Regions from separate parts of the Homo sapiens genome. Here region 2 is linked to region 1. The links are contacts of gene promoters, found by promoter capture Hi-C in blood cells and fetal thymus (Javierre and others, 2016). All regions are on one chromosome and are shown on one strand. Each heading gives the region's core, a stretch centred on a gene start or on the middle of the fragment in contact. The rest is flanking DNA. Distances are from core to core; before and after follow the strand shown.

What was found. Contacts are between HindIII fragments. The CHiCAGO score rates a contact against its expected background, and 5 or more counts as called.
Region 2: a contact is called between a fragment that was not itself captured here and the fragment with the promoter of SH3BGRL2 in region 1, in 1 of 17 cell types (M1 macrophages). The highest score is 5.2, in M1 macrophages.

Annotation. Positions count from the first base shown.
Region 1 is chr6:79,629,790-79,632,954 of GRCh38, reverse strand. It overlaps SH3BGRL2 (SH3 domain binding glutamate rich protein like 2), which reads right to left and starts at 1,626. Exons shown (of 4, transcript NM_031469.4): 1 at 1,449-1,626. The coding sequence starts at 1,493. The HindIII fragment of the contact is 2,885 bases long and covers 1-1,927 here.
Region 2 is chr6:79,872,257-79,875,421 of GRCh38, reverse strand. No RefSeq gene overlaps it. Among named protein-coding and RNA genes, the nearest start is that of LINC01621, 62 kb to the right of the region's middle. The HindIII fragment of the contact is 270 bases long and covers 1,497-1,766 here.

The DNA of each region.
Region 1 (3,165 bases), core at 377-2,876:
CCATAATCAATATAATGCTATTGGGACAATTATTGAAGCATGCAAGTCGGTGGTGAAACCAAGAGCTTTGTAGCATTCTTAGTAAGGAGTGCATTTGAACAAATCTACCCTTGAAACAGTGCCAGTTTGCAAACACATGAAGTGTGGCTTCAGTGGGGAAATCTACAAAAGGCAGGCATGACTAAGCAACCCAAATAGCTAGAAACACCAGAAACTGTCAGAAGTCTGAGGACCCCAACATGACTGCACATAAGTGTAAGTTGGATTTTCCCATCTATTGTTTCTAGTGCAAATGGGGGTGGAGGGGCTTTGTATGATCGTGTTGGTTTCTTTTTAAATAAAAAACTTCAGTGGTGTACAAGGATTTTCAAACAATATTTTATTCCATCCTCCACTCCACCCACTTAAGAAACAAATTTTGGAACAATCTGACTGAGCTACTGGGCAGACAATTGACCAGACCAAATTTAAGCAATCTACAATGCACTTTTTGATGTTACTTGATTATATATGTCACAAAGGAGGCTCTTAAATCTATAGCTGAACTCTTGGTTAAGGAAACCAAGTCTCAATAATCATGTAAAACACATGTGCTATGTCCCTTAGTGGGCTGTCAAATATACTAACTACTGAATTTTCCTTAAATTCTGACATCTCTAGCTATTTAACTTTCCTTTCTTTAAAAAAATTTTTTTTCTCTAAAAAAATTCAAGAACATCCACCAAAGAGAATAGCTAAAAATAATTAAATAGAAAACCACAATTCATAGATCCCCAGGATAAAATTTCCACAGCATTACAGGTGGAAAGAAAATGCGTGCATACACACACATTTACATAAAGATGTAAAAATATTTATGGCACCCTAAGAAAAAAAATGACAGTGAAAGCAAACAATCCTACCACAACAGGACAAACCTAGTTTTACTATTCTCTTTGCGCAGGTATAAAACTAAACAAATGCACTTGCTGGCGGGGAAGGGAGGACAGAGAGCAATTCCCACTTAAACTTGCTTCATTCAGGAGCTAGGGTAACAAACCAAAGCAGCAGAAAAGGCTCCCGTGCAAAACATAACCAGTCTGAAGGTCCCAAATCGGGAAGAACTAAACTAGGGGAAGGGGGATCCCCGAAGCTCTTGAACAACCCGTTCCCCAAATTTCCATGCCACACAACAGGAGCTGGGGGCTTCCCTCGGACTCCATTTTCAGGCCGCGTTGTCTGCCTTTCAGGCCACGCAGGGTGGGCATTTGGGTGAGGCCGGGGTCCCCCACCCACCTTTCCTCCCCGCCCTCTTCATTGTTGTCGGAGTGTGATGGATCACCTGCCGGGCGCGGGCTCCCGCGGGCGGACCGGCTGAGCGCAAGGACGCGCAGTGACGAGCGCCGCGCGCCTCCCGCAGGACCCGCGCCCCGCGACCCCAACCTACTGCCCGCCCCCACCGCGCTCACCGCCACGAAGCCCGAGGAAGAGGCGATGAACACGCGGATGACCATCCTCTCGCTGCGCCCGGGACAGACCCCTTGCCCCCCGGGCTCCGGGCTGGCGTGGACGCAGAGCTGAACCCAGCTACGAGCCGCCGGCAGCCTCTGGGTAAAGCGCTGCCGTCGGGGAAGATCGCTGGGATCTGGCTCCCTCCCGGCGGGTCCGCAGATAAAAGCCCAGCGCCGCCCGGCCGCAGGCTGAAGGGGAAGGAGAGGGAGGAGGAGGGAGCCGGCTGCGGGGCTTGATGGGATTTGTAGTTTCCGTCTCTCCCTGGAGTGGCTGGTGGACTGAGCTCCCCTCCTGACCGCGCTTCTATCCCGAACACGCGCAGGTGGCTGGAGGGGAGCCACAGCCCGGGCAGAAGCTGTGAGGTGGGTTGGCAAGGATCCTGGCTTGATGAGGAAAAAGCAAACTAGGCAAAAGGGCTCGGTTCAAAGTCCAAGCTTGGGTTCTGTATTGTGGTTTATTGGTTTGGAGCATCCACACCCAGAAATGCCAACAGACACGATCGTGCTGCGGGCACACATCGTCTCAGGGCCGCTGGCGTACCGGGCAAACCCCAGCTACCTGAAGCAGGCGGGATCGGCGAGCCGGGTGCTTGGGAGGTGTGGGCGGTGGGGTTGGGCTCGTTTGTTTGTCCAGTAGCACTGGAGATTGCAGAAAGGTGATTCTTTTGGGTAAATGAGAGGTCTTCTCTTGTCTGTACACACTGAAAATTAGAAACCCAGATGGAAGCACAACCAATATTTTATTTTTCTCAGCAAAACTGTAATTGTAGTAGAAAAAAATAAATACCAAACGAAATTGGAATCCTTCTATCAACATTGGAAATCAGGACCCTACCTGCCCCACCCCTCCCTACACAATGGCTTCGCCTCTGTGCACCTAATATTTACAGTTCAGCCAAATCTGTGCCTTTTTCAGAACCGCTGCACATTCCAGCGCAGTTTCCCAGGAGGATGCTGTTAAATAAAAAGCTTCTATATAGTTGCTAATAGTTTAGGAATAGTTTTTTATCAAGTGCTTTCTGTTTGACAAAAGCTCAAGCCTCTCTCTCAGTTTTGTCGAAAGGAACCAGTTTTCCCTGCTGTACTGTATTTACTTTTTTCCTTTCAACACGGGAGTTTAGCAGAGGTCTGGGAACAATGTTAATTAAGAAAAAGTAAGAAATTAGATGATGAGGTCTCTGGCTCTTTGATACATTTCTTGCACAAAGAGCAATCATTATGAAGTATTTTTTAGAACAGTTATGAATATTTCAAATTTATAACCTTTCCTATTGCTTTTCTTAAAGCCATTTCTGTAGTAGGAATCTTTTTAAATTTCCTTCAATAATAGAAGAGACACTCCTAATGGGACTTTATTTCTTCTTCGTGTTTAAAATTTTAAATAGAAGTTTTGCTGTCTTTAGTATCTCTCGGCAAATGTACTTTAATTTTGCTACCATAAATGTGGAAATGCACGTTTATAAAATAGAAAATAATTTTCTTAAAAGTAGATACCGTATTTCCTATATAAATGCAAATCTTTATAAAAGTCAGCATTTTCTTCAGTTTGGAATTATTCAGCTATGAAGATATAGTTAAACTCAAATAATTGGAACTCAGAGCCTACTCTGTGAAAGGTACAAGAATGGATAAAAAGTTGAACGAGTCATTTCTCTGTCAGCAGAGCACCTATTGT
Region 2 (3,165 bases), core at 382-2,881, 240 kb before region 1:
TCCACTTGATCTCCCAGAATCATTTTATATCATTGACACCCAACTTCTCCTTTCTTTCCGATCCTTTTGCAAAACACTCATTTCTTCTTCAGTCTCTGACTCTGTTTTCTCTAGCTCCTGCCAGCCATCAAATAAGTTGTACCTCTTTGTTTTGTCCTTGGTCCTCTTCTTTTTCTCCATGCACCTTTAATTGTGGATCTTCCCAATTCCAGGGGTTCAGCTATCATTTCATTCATTTAACTGGTGTTTTATTCCACTTCGGTTATATGGCTTGGAATCTACTTTGATTTGTTAGACTTGCAGTTAATTAATTTGTTCATTGATTAATTCATTTGTCAAACTTTTAAGACCTTCTACTACGCACCAGACACCAGGTTGAACACAGAAGATACGGAGCTGAATAAGAAATGATTCTTCTCTCAAAAATTTCACAATAATATGCTAATGTTTCCTGTTTCACAAGCTCTGAACTCTTTCCTAAGATCTAGATAAATGAAATTGCCAACTGGATGGTTTGTTTGCTCTTCAAACTAGCATGTCAGAAAAGAGTCTGGCTTTACCCCTCAGCCACCCCTACTCACATTTGTTTTTCACCATTTCTATTAGTGTCCTCAGCACCCCAGCACCAAATTATCTTCCTCCTTTTCTCGTCTTCCCAGCCTTGATTCCTCATCTTTCTCTACACATACCTCACACTTTAGTCAATAGCTCTGTCCTGAGCACACCCAAACTCTTCCCAGTCTTCCAGTATCAAGACTACTTTTAAGATCTGCTTCCTTGCAATGAGTTTCGTGTAAATTAGAATGCACATTGTGACAATATTAACTTTTATTGTCAACTTCTGTTCCTACCGTAAATGCATTTTGTAATGAATCTTCTCTCTATGGCTGTCCATGGAGGATATATTATCATTTTGTTTTACATGTGAAGAAATCAAGTGACTTGCCCATGATTATACTACTGGCAAGGGTCAGGGTCAGAAAAACAGTTTGCCAGTTTCCCAAGTATGAATCCTTTTCAGTGCTTGACGATCGTGAAGCAAGTTCTTAGCTTCTCTCAGCAGCATTTCCCAAAGGGTGTTCCTTGAGATGCTACTTGATGCTATTCAACAAACAAAGAATCCTACAGACAAATGAATTTGGGAAATGATAAGAAATTAAAACCGGCTTCTTTTCTGCTAGTATTCTCTGAATTTTTAACATGCTAATGAAGTGCATTGTGAATATATAATGCATAATATTTTATATAGCACTTTCTGAAGATGACCTAATTACCACAGAACCATTACTTCACAGCCTCTCTCAGACTTGTTTTATTCAGAATAAATCAGAGAAAATGTCTTTTAAAGAAAGGGAGCTTGGGGGTCACAGCACTAGTTCATATTCTCTTAATTTCACTTGACATGAGAAATCTTCACCTTAATATTTCCTGGTTGACCATTCAACAAGCTTGTTATGAATTCAATTACACATCAGTTTCAACCTTTGTCAAAAGCTTTTCTTAGGAGGCTCAAGGAGGTGCCTCACCTTCTGGCAGAGAACTAGTGAGTCTGTGTTTACATTCTCAGGAAAATCATATTATTAATTAATAAGAACTTCTACTTTTTTAACACTGCTAAATTCAAGACACTGGAGCACTTATCTCACTTAATCCTCAAAACTATTCTGGGGAGTAGGTACTAATGTGACCTCTATTTCACAAATGGGAAAGCAAAGGCTCAGTAGTACATGCAAGTAAGCCTATGACCACCATAATAGTGATAAGCTTAAGGCTCATCACCAAGTCTCTCTGATCAGAGCCCGTGCTTTTAGCCTTATATTCTTATATCCTGACTCATTATCAACATATTTAAAAATAGGTGAATGTGATTGAATGATAGAAAAAGAATGTACCAGGAGACAGCCATGTCTGTATCCACCTCATGATATTTATAGCTCCTAGCACAGTGCTTAGCATGTAGGAGGTGTTTAAGAAATCTCTGTTGAACAGAAATTAAGTTGAATGACAGTATGGAGCCTTATAAGGGAGGTATATAGAAACAAGAGAACACACTTTGAAAAAGAGCATCAATTAAACAACATAGTATCTTCATTGTGAACATGTGAAGAAAAATCACATCACTCTTTGGAATGACTGGAATGATTCTGAGAGCTACTTGTTTCACCAGGGTCATAGTTTCCCTGTTGGCTTATTGAGCTAGAGAACAAGATGCTGCAGCTAAGCTGTCATCATCGCCTCTCTTTGTTGTTGCTCTTTTATTACATGTTTCAGTTGCAGCAGCAGGGATGAATCAGGCATACTTACACAATCTTGAGTTTCCTGAAGGAGAATTGCCTGTTAGTCGTATATCAACTACTCACCTGCCCAACCAGTGAAGATTTAACCTTAGATATTGGAGCATGTGCACATGTCAGAAATGTAGACAGAGGATAAGTAAAGAAATAAAAAGAACATGTAAAATCATCTTCTAAGTAACTTATTCAGCTACAACCGAGAAAAATTACAAATGTTATGATCGTGTCTGCAAAAGGAAGTGGATAGGTGTATTTAGATGAGTTTCTTACACTGAGATAAGTAAGATAAGTTAAAGATAATGAAATTTATATGCTGGGGTGATGACTAAAGAAGGAAATCTTAATTACCCAAAAGAGTATGGATGGTATAAATCAACAAGGAGGGATAGAATTGGAAGGCCTAAGAGTTAAATAATTAGGAAAAACAACATATGATAAGAGAGAAAGGAGGAAATATCTAGTCAAACAACTTGAAACCGTCCTTGTTTGGTCTTAATATTAATCCTATTCAGTTGACTCTCTGATTCAGCAAGATGGGGCTCAAAGTTGAAGAGGTAACACAGCCTCTCTACCTCCTTTCAGTGTTCTGGATTTCTCATGAGTCAGTTGATGATACTCAGAGTGTGGTGCTGACACCATTCCCATTCACGTGTCCATTAAAGTAAACACCAGTGTGCACAGTGATCATTTTCACTGTGGGAACATCTGTAATCTGTTTTATTTTTATGTATTGACCTTAGTTTACCCAGACTCTTTATTCACAGGATTCAGAAGGTGTATCACACTAAAGTTAATGAAACCAAGCAGCTCTTATTCCCCCTTCTTCATAGCTCCTAGCATAGCATGAAACATGGTAAGCACTTAAAAAATG